2 separate regions of the Homo sapiens genome follow, and region 2 is linked to region 1. Evidence: promoter capture Hi-C in 16 types of primary human blood cells and fetal thymus (Javierre and others, 2016). All regions are on one chromosome and are shown on one strand. The core of a region is centred on a gene start or on the middle of the fragment in contact, and the rest is flanking DNA. Distances in the headings are between cores, read along the strand shown.

Region 1 (5,208 bases), core at 1,162-3,661:
TTTTTTTTTTTAATGAGGCAAAAGGTAGCGTGAAAAAGCAGGCATGGCATATAAGCAAGCTTTTTTTAAGGCTGAGTGACTTATGTGGCTGATAGAGGAAGGATAAGAGGAAAGGAAATATAGTGAAAAGGAACAGAGAGGAATAATAAAGCTGGCAAGTCACAGACAACATAATTAGACTATCAAAAGAAAATCTGGAAGAAAGGCATGGACAGGAATAAAGACCTCCTTCTAAAGCAAGGTAGGGAGAGCAACTTGATGTAGATTGAAGAGAAAAAGGAAAGAAAAATGAATGTTCATATTTGATGGCCTATGATTTTCTGGGTCATGTAGAAGGCAAAGTAACATGTTCAAGTGATGAATTTGGTAACTTTAGGATAATGATGACAGTTCAGACAACAAATACAGAGAATAAAAGAGAACACTGACTATATGAATAGAAGGATTTTAGAGACATTACGACTCAGCCGAGTTTAAATCAAAGATTGTAAGGCATTCAGTCATCAAGGTTATACATTTTTCTCCAGCAGCTCTAGCCTTCTATGAAATAGAAGCAGAAAAAAAACCCAAAACAGATGGGTTAACTACCTGTAAATCTGGATTTGAACTGGTAGAATGAAGCTTCCTGCAAATGTTGGATGTAAAAGTGCAGATCTAATCAGGTAAAATCTCAAGCATTAATTGGATATGCTTATAACAAACCGGTAAATTTTTAGAAGATGTAAAACATATCTTAGAAAAATAATTTAAATTATTAATGAGAATTAGACTAAGTCATTGAAATTTGATTTTTAAAACTTACCGAGCCTCTCTTTCATTGAACTCAGAAGTAGTGTGAATGGTAAGTCTTCCTTGTCAAATGGAATGCTACTTAGCAGCTGTCTTAGCTCGTTCCAGATGCTATAATAAAGCACCATAGACTGACTGACTGGTTTATAAACACACATTTATTTCTCACAGTTCTGGAGGCTAGAAGTCCAAGATCAGGGTGCCAGCATAGTTGGTTTCTGGTGAGGACCTTCTTCTGGTTTGCAAACTGATGTATTTTTGTATCCTCCTGTGGCAGAAAGATGGAGACAGCTCTCTGGGTCCCTTTTTTATAAGGGCACTAATCGCATTCATGCGGCCTCTATGCTATGAATTACCTCCCAAAGGCCCCATCTCCTAATACCATCACATTGGGGTTAGGATTTTAACAAATGAATTTAAGGGAAAGCACAAACATTCCGTCCACTGCAACATCTACAAAATAGGTCCTTAGGAAGTGCAGAAGTCTGGAACAGTTCTTTCCCAAGCCACAACCCTGAAAACATGGATTGCTGGGTATGCAGATTCTCCTGGGTCCCTTTCCCATAAACACCGAATTAGACACTCTGAGGATGCAGCCCAGACATTCTGTATTTTTCACCAGGCATAATGGTGATGGCTGATATTAGAATGGTGAAATTTATCCCACCTAGTAAGAATCTAAACTGAAAATGGTGATGATGCAAAAAAGATCTGTCAACCAGTTAAAAAAAAAAAAAAAAAAAGAGGGTGTGTGTTTGTCAGGAGGGATAGTCTTTAGTAGTATGGCCAAAAGCTTAAGCCTGATTTTCAGGGCTCTATTGTTGGAGTGGGTAGTTCATCAACTTCCTAAGTAATTCAAATCTTTTTCCCCCCAATATATTAATATATTGGTGATTCCAAGAAAGAGGGTTTAATTTATTTAATGCCTGGGAAAACTAAAAGAACTACAAACAGATGTGAAAGGAAGAGAATAACCACATCTCACAGGAAGCAAAATTTCTGTCAAAAGTTACTGTTCTTTCCCTGTCTAGGTTCTTTGTCCCTGAAAGGTAGATCCGCAAACTAAATCCCTCAATAACGTTGCCTAAACAGGACTGGGATCATAGAATGTCCAACACTAACATGAGTTCATAATGGCACAACGAACTTAAAATGTTACTATTCATGTTTTAATTATGATTGCAGTCTTACGTTGAAGGTATCTCCGCCGTCCTTAAACATAAAAAAAAAAAAAGGAAATACAAGCTGCAAAAGTTTTATGTAATGCACTCCACCCTCTTTTTTCCCCAAGCCAACACACACCCTTCAAACTTTTTGACAGTTATTTTCAGACCCCTCCTAGGCTCCCGAACTCCATGCAACTCCAGCAGTCTCCCCTGGGCCATTTTTAGCCTCTGCTCTGACCTGGCGGGAGGCTGGGTGTCCACCCTTTCCCCTGCAGTCCTGAAAGTCCGGTCCGAGCGCGGACGGGGCGGGGAGGGGCTGGGCGGGCCAGGCCAGCTCCATTGGCGCCAGGCGGGTGGGGGAATGCGCTGAGAGGACCCGTCCAGCTTGCTTAAAAGCCATCAGTTTTCTGACCCCGCATCGGTTCCAGGAAGAATACACCTATGTGACAAGCTAAGTTCTGCCTCATTTTGCATTTAGAAGCCACAAGAAAAACTTTTCGAAAACTTTTGTCCGTCTTTTGCTCCCCCGACGCGTGGTTTCCTGATGGTCCGTCCCCGGGCAGAGAGAGGGACGCCCCCTCCTCCTCCCCGCCTCTTGTGAGGCGCGCGGAGCCGCCTCCCCTGGGTCAGGTCTGATGGGCCGGTGGGCGCGCTAGTGGTGGCCGCCACCGCCGAAACCGTCGACCTCCTGGGCCCCAGTTCCGCGTCCAGCCCCGCGGCAGCATGGACTACCTGACGACGTTCACCGAGAAGAGTGGGCGCCTTCTGCGGGGCACGGCCAACCGCCTGTTGGGGTTCGGGGGCGGCGGCGAAGCCCGGCAGGTGCGCTTCGAAGATTACCTGAGGGAGCCAGCCCAGGGGGACCTCGGGTGCGGGTCCCCGCCCCACCGGCCCCCGGCGCCGTCCAGCCCGGAGGGACCTGGTGAGCCCACCTTTCTTTCGCCTCCCGCGCGGCCGACCTGGGCTGAGGGCTGTGGGGAGGCGGCGGTCGTGGCGCCGGGCGGGGGTCGCTGCCCGGCTCTGGCAGGTGTGCCTGGGCCGGGGCGGGCAACGTGGCCGGGGTGGCGGCCGCCGGGGGCGAGGAAGGAAGGACTCGTTCGGCTCTGGGGAGGGAAGACTTTCAGCTGCGTGCCAGCTCTTCCTGCTCTGCTCTTCCTGCTTTCCTCACCTAGACTTGATTTTCTTTCCCCGCCAAGTATTTCAAGGGGACGATCCATTCTCTCTTTCCCTCCCACTGGGAGGTGAAGACTGAACCAGTTATGACGTCCGTGTTTTCAGTCTTGGATTCTTGAAGAGCGCTGTGCCTGCTTTGGTTTTGGTTTGGGTCAGTCTTTCCTTAATATTTCTCAGTTGTTAGGATTCACTTCCTAACCGAAAAATAAAAAGCCAGATACTTCTTTGTAAAATAAAACACTTCATTAACATTGGAAGCTAGTTGACATTTTGCGTCGTGTACTTTTTGAACGGCTGCACGTTGTCTTGTGGTGGCAGAACCTAGAAACTTTCTCAGTTCCTGTTTATTTTGTGTTGTGTTGGCCGATTTTTTTCACCACAGTGGCTTTGTACCATTCTTTAAAACAGTCATTTGTAGCGACATGATATTGATAACTTAAAGAATTTTTGAAAGTGCTGCTGAACAGTTTTAGCATAATGCATAGGGTAACTTCCAGTGTCCTTGGCTTCGTTTAACAGGTAGCAGACATCCTAGCCATGTCTGATTTTTATTTTTGTTAATTGCTTTAATATTTGAGGGTTATGAAAATAAATGAGCATTAGAGAGTTTAGAAAATAGAGATAGGCACAAAGTGTGTAAAATCTGTTTATAACTCCACATCGTGCCAGTCATTTTATTTTAAATTTTATCTTACTTTATTTTTGTAGAGATGGAGTCTCGCTGTGTTGCCCAGGCTGGTCTTAACTCTTGGCCTCAAGTGATCCTCCTGCCTAGGCCTTCCCAAGTGCTGGGATTACAGGCCTGAACCACCATGCTGGGCCCTGCCAGTTGTTTTAAAGCAGTAAAACAGTGAGGACATTTTTGATCTATGTGTGTAGGTATGTAATTTAAGCTTTGAAGAAATATTAAAGTCTCATTTTAGCATAGCCCTTTAAAATAAATTTTCCTTACTTTACATAAAATATTTTTTATCTTTAGAAATGCTGTTTATGGAATTAGGAAATGAAAAGGGGAGGGGAATACTTTTGTTTCTGCTCTGAAGGACGTTAACCAAATGCAGAATCCTCTTAAAGGTGGGACCAGGCATAGGAAAGGGACTTTAAAGTGTTCAAATCAAGGACTTTTTAAAATGAGTTTTCAGTAGCCTAATTGAAAACAGTTGATGTGTGACCAGCCTTGAAATGGGTGGAGAATTCAGAAATATGTGGGGTAACTTAACTAAAAAGGAATATGGTTAGTATTTTAATAAATATGGCCAAACACGTGTATCTGATTCATTCGGTGGCCCGTGTCTGTAGTTCCAGCTACTCTGCTCAGGAGGCTGGGGCGGGAAGATCCTTTGAGCCCAGGAGGAGAATCCAGACTGGGCAGCAGAGAGACACTTATGTGTTTATATATGTGGAGCACACAGCTATATCTGACACCCTCCTTCAAAGTGGCGCTTCTGAAGTGATATGTATTCCTCTTCTGTTGAAGCTGCCTTATGTATTCATTGCATATTCTTTAATAGTCATGGTGCCCCCAAATCTCTGACACATTAGAGAGGCGTTGTGAGGTCAAAGTATGACCACAGTCATGTGGGCAGGTACGTCCTAGCATTAACTTCCTGAAAGAATTTGGACAAGTTACTTAGTGTCTTTGGGCCTATATTTTCTTCTTTGTAAATGAGGTTGGATTTGGTGATTTCAAAATTCTCTATTCTAGAGCATTTTCATTTGGAGCAGAATTAGTGAAAACTAGCTGACTTTTGAGAGGCAACGTGTATATACACAAGTGAAAAATAAATGATTCTTCATATGTTTCCAGCTAGCCTTTGTTTAAAATGAGAATTCTGTGCTTTGCAGCTGCTTCTCAGATGGATTTTGGCTCTAGGGTTGTTCTTTGTGTTTGTGTCCTTTAGAATGAGTGTCTGTCAGTCTGTTTGAAGGATTTCTTCTGCTCTTTCTACTCTTATTTCAGTTTCTTAATAGCTGCTTAAGTTTCCTGCTATCATTCTTTCTTCAGTTCTTTAAGAAGCCCTGTGTATTATAGGAGTATTTCTTGTTACAGATACTTTCACACATGTAAATTGACTGCATT
Region 2 (5,399 bases), core at 502-3,001, 600 kb before region 1:
AGTCAACAAACAACAGAAGGAAGACGTAAGTATACATGAAAACTAATTGCATTGATTTTTCTCTCTTTTTTTATGAGGCTCCTGGGTTTCAGGCCGGTTTAAAAAAGGATTTTCACAGACTAGAATGAGCCTGTGAGTACATAGGCAATCTCAGAGTACTTCAGGAGGCACACGTGACACAAACTCATCCTTCATTCTGAATTAATGGCCAAAGAAACGCAAATTTTGCTTAAATCTAGAGTCATTCCAGCTCAAGTTCCACCAATATTATTCTGACCCTCTTCCTCAAGGCTAGACAAGGTTGGGAATTGTCATTTCCTTTATCTTACCTTAAGCTCCACTATGAGAGAAGTGTGAAGAACTTAATAATCACCAGCACCAGAACCTAATTAAGAATGGATTTGAAAGCTATAAAATCATAGCAATATAAGAAAGGAAGAAAGATCCATTTTTATTAAAAGTACATCTTTTTAATAGAAATAAAGAACATATAGCATATGGAATGAGAATACAAAATAAGACAGAAAAAGCTGATTTTAATTGTGCTTAATTAAGAACTGTACATGTGGGATTATGAAAAAGAAAAGAATAGTTGGCTTCAATTACTTTTTGCCAAAAAACAGATAGGATGAAATGTAGCTTTTAAAGTATAAAATTAAATCATTCAAGAGGGGTTGTACTGAGGTAAATTTCATATTTTAAACTTTTGCAGCTGGTAAATAACAATGTTCAAAGGTTTTACTTAAGTTATTTCAAACTCAAATTTCGGAGATCAGGAGGAGTAATGTGTAAGAACTTTTTCCCCCAAAATATTTATGAAGCATCAACTGTGAGCAGTGCCGTATTTCCTGTCTATACTGACAGTCTAATTCAAAACCAAGATATAGTTACCATGAGTGAAACTGCTCCTGTAAACTTTATAAATTCAATCAGGGAAGAAGGGACGGGGAGAAATGAAAATAAAGCAAGCTTGCAGCACACCCAGCATTAATCATTATGTTAGATGCTCTGTGATCCATTCCTCATAGTTGTTTGCCTATTGCCTCCGAATTACATAGACCCTGTTACAAGATTACCGTTCCCCTTCACTGCTCTACAGATAAAAACTTAAAATACCTCAAAGGGAAAACATAAGTTCTATTCTTTCAAGTCCTGCAAGCCCTGTAAAAGAATGAAACTACTGACATCAGCTAGTCTGAAGGACCCCACAAGAAGCTGACTCACCAAAGAATGCAGTTTCTACATCCTCATGATGTCATCCCCCTTACCCCAAATATCAACAATCTCAATGCTCCAACCTCTCACCCTCCATGATCCCATTAAAAACCCCAGCCAAGTGCTCCTTGGGGAGACGAACTTGAGGGTCTCCTCCCATCTCCTCACTTGGTATCCGGTGAGCATTAAACTCTTTCTCTGCTGTAAACTCTGTTGTCTCAGTGTAACTGATCTGTTACTGTACAGTGGTCCTGTGTACTTGCTAGTCCTATAACAGGAAGAGGAGGAAAAAAGAAGGAAAGAAGTAGGAGAAAGAGGAGCAGGAAAAGAAAACATGTTGAGAAGTATTTACTTGCCTCACTTCAAAGAATATCACAGACATTAACAATCTTACACTCTGGAGAAAGTACTTACTCTTTGAGGTTCAAATTCTTTGTTGATAAGATGTGTACAGGAATTTCTGCTGGTGGATTCATTGTAGGAAAAGGTAGAATGCGTACTACATACTGTAAGGAAAACGGATGTGCTGCGGTCAAGAATAGGTCGAAGCAGACATCCGGTCCAGCATGACTCAGTGAGTTTGGAGCTCACTCACACAACTCAGCTCATTAGGTAACCACGCCACGTGAGGCGCATTAGTAACCAGTCACGTGAGCGCGTGCTTGATTCAGAGCCACTGTCGTCTGTAAAAGTTATAACTACACTGCTGATGCTGTACATATGGCTTATGCGCAGAGAGAGAGAAAAGCCATGTCAAAACTGTCTACGATTCCCCCAGTGTTTTTCCGGCTACCCACCACTCACCCACTGACTCCCCTCGGACCTCAGTTAGAACCTGACACATACCTTGAACAATCCTGGGCACATAGAATGTAGGTTTGTGGTTGAATACCCTCACCACCTCCATCTTAGTATATTTAAAGCTAAAGTCACAGCTTTTCTCCTTACATTAAAGCATCCTTCTCTTTTGAATTGTTGCATTCTATTTTATCTGCCCAATATTTCTTAGAGGCGATGTTTTCACTTCTTACCATCACCTCATGAGTTAAAATTTTGATACTTAACTCTTTAGTTATTGTAGTATCTACCTAATTGATGTTTTTCCTTTCTACCTTTGCAAATTGCCTGTTCCAAATATAAGTAGAAACAAGCAAGAAAGAACTCTGAAGGATAATTCATCTCAGCTGGAACCCATGGCCTCATAGGGGCTTCCTTACAATCAACTAACTGAAGGGGAAAAGCCTGAGCTTGGTCCATGGGATCAGTTGGCTGATAGGTTAGTAAAAGTATAAAATGGTATGCCATCACTCCAGCCCCACCCAGGGACTGCCTGAAGACTGGGGGTAAAGGAACATCCTCTCAATGAGCAGAACTGCAAGCAAACCTGGTTATTCATCTTGGCTGCAAAGAAGAGTAATATGAGGTAAAGATATATGGAACTGCTGGGCTTGTCTTCATGGGCAGAAGCCTGGTAGTGGCAAGACTAGAAGAGAGTAAAAATGAAATTTGTGTTGAGGCAAGTTTATGAACCTATTGGAGTAGTACAAAGGGTGTGGAGGATTGCTGGCACATTAATGCCTGTAGGAGAACATCTGCTACATAAGAAGCACTCAACAGCTAGGGAGGAAGGATGACTTATTCTGTGGATATCAGCCAACCTCCTCAACCACCTAGATTATGCACAGTGGATATATGAGCACAAAGTCAGGAATAGAGTCTATGCACAGACCCAAAGCATGGACCTCCTAATGTTGATCTAGCTACTGCTTCTACTGATTATTCTATAAAGAAAATTACATGTATCCCAGATGTAGAGTTGCATTCCTGCCCCCTGCCAGGGTAAAGACTTACAGAGCTTCTGCTCTATCCAGTGGAAGTTACTCTACCACACAAATAACTTAGATGCAATGACATATTGGCTGAGTATGAGGAAAGTCTAGAATGGGTGGTGGAGAAAAGGGATGAGAAGTATCAGCTATAGCATCAGGACCATTTGCAGCAGTGGGACCTCTACCTTTTTCCACTAACTCTTATGGATTAAATTGCATCCTCCAAAAACATATGTCAAAATCCTAATCTCCAGTGTCTTAGAATGTGACCTTACTTGGAAATACAGTTTTTGCAGATTTAATTAGTTATGATGAAATAATACTGGAGTAGGGTGGGCCCTTGATCCAATATAACTGGTGTCCTTATAAGGAAAGGGAAATGTAGACACAGAGACAGAGACGCATGGAGAGGAGAATGCCACGTGAAGACAGACACAGATGGAAGACAGCCATGTGAAGATGGAGACAGAAATTGGAGTTATGCTACCCAAGCCAAGGAATGCCTAGGAGCGGGAAAAGGAAGGAAGGATCATTCTCTGGAGGCTTCCAGAGACAGCACTTTGATTTTAAGATTTCTAGCCTCCAGAATGGAGAGAGAGTAAGCTTCTGTTTTTTTGTGTGTGGGGTGTGTGTGTGTGTGTGTGTGTGTGTCTGTGTGTCTGTGTGGCTGGGGAGGATTGAGGGTTTTTTGTTTTTTGTTTGTTTGTTTGGTTTTTTGGGGTTTTTTGGTTTTCTTATTTTGCCACTCAGCTTGCAGTAATTTGTTACAGCTGCCCCAGAAAACTAACACGCCTTCAGAATGGTTTTTTTGTCGTTGTTGTTGTTTTGCTTTTTTTGAGACGGAGTCTCACTCTGTTGCCCAGGCTGAAGTACAGTGGCACAATCTTGGCTCACTGCAACCTCTGTGTCCCGGATTCAAGCAATTCTAGAATGGAGTTCTTTTGTAGAGATTGCAGTCAGCTACATATTATAAGGCTATACGATGAGTATGTCCAACCAGCATATGAAGTGGAGCATGAAGATTTCTCATATGTCCTTTTGGAACATATTTTTTTCCAGCTATTGCTGCACCAACTGGCTGCGTGCAGGGGTACCCTTGTAGCACTTTGGGCTGTATATCTCTTACTTGCTGTCCTGGGCTTTTTTTGTTGTTCAACATGAAAATCTGAAAGTGTTCACATAGCCATGCTGTTTACGGTATACCAGGAAGTACAAGGGAGTCATTACACCCTTGGGCAATATTTGATCAATAGAAGATGGAAGCCAGTGGCTAAAATTTCCCACTCCTATGCCTAGGATAGACCATTCAGAGATGCTCTTTACACTGTTCCTCAGAGAGCCTACATGGCAACCAGCTCAATAATGCATCCTTGAATTGCGTTTATTTCTTTCCCTGTTTCTGTGTTCTCTGTCATTTCATTTTAGTTTCCTGGGATCTCTTTCCAAAGAAAACTATCAACAAGCAAGCAGCCTTTACCATCAGAAAGAACCCACGGTGAACTAGCAATGGAGTTCTGCCAGATATTTGTGACTGATTTTTTATCACTATAAGACAAGCCCTAGAATAGTACCTTGCACTTAATAGGACTCAGTAAATATATATTTGTTGAATGAATGAATGCACAATAACATTGATCCTTTAATAATTGTATGTTATATACATTGCAGTTAACTGCATATTCTACTAAGGTAATATCTTTGTAGGGATCCAGACTTTGCATTTCTTTTCCTTGCCTACATGGATATTATGTGTGGTTAAAAAATCAAGATAAGCTGTGTATGTGGAAAGTTATATAATTTTAACCCTAATATCATTATTAAAAATAAAATCAGATTAGTACTGTTTACTTGTTTTCATAGAAGCATGCAGATTGCAGGTACTCAAGTCTAAAAATGACTCCTTGCATGTGTCTTCACATTCTGCTTCTTAAAATATATTATATATATTTAAAATATATTATTAATGATTTTGCAGAGGTTGCTAGGAATGATTATATGAAACAACGCTATCTGTAAGGCTCTTTCAGAATCTAGAGATTAATTCTCTGACCCTGCATACTTGAATTCAGAGAAGAGTAGAATTTCATGACAAATGCTAACTTAAATGCCAGTTTCTAGAGGACACCATGTAAGGAAGCTCATGCTTTAGTGTATGGGATGTTTGGCTAGCTCTCTGACTTTCTAAACAAATGGAATATCTGAGAAACTGCATCAAATGATAACTGCTATGCGTGACCTCCCCGTCTCTGCCCTGCTCCTACTCATGACTAATTCCAACCTATCCCAACTTTCTGTCCTGATGTTTTTCCTGCATTTGCACCTTCTTTATGTAGGAGGAGAAGTAAGATTCTGTTG

The links. The method cuts DNA at HindIII sites, captures the fragments that hold promoters and counts their contacts. A CHiCAGO score of 5 or more calls a contact.
Region 2: the fragment with the promoter of ZFPM2-AS1 here is called in contact with the fragment with the promoter of OXR1-AS1 in region 1 in 2 of 17 cell types (endothelial precursors and M1 macrophages); the score reaches 8.9 in endothelial precursors.

The regions. Positions count from the first base shown.
Region 1 is chr8:106,655,309-106,660,516 of GRCh38, forward strand. It overlaps OXR1-AS1 (OXR1 antisense RNA 1), which reads right to left and starts at 2,412. Exons shown (of 3, transcript XR_007061059.1): 1 at 803-2,412. All of the region lies in intron 3 of OXR1 (oxidation resistance 1), which reads left to right. RefSeq lists enhancers at 2,303-2,512, 5,078-5,208 and silencers at 2,583-2,832, 2,873-3,022. The HindIII fragment of the contact is 2,439 bases long and covers 1,581-4,019 here.
Region 2 is chr8:106,058,752-106,064,150 of GRCh38, forward strand. ZFPM2-AS1 (ZFPM2 antisense RNA 1) reads right to left here and starts at 1,752. Exons shown (of 5, transcript NR_125797.1): 1 at 1,630-1,752. RefSeq lists an enhancer at 1,247-2,446. The HindIII fragment of the contact is 2,678 bases long and covers 968-3,645 here.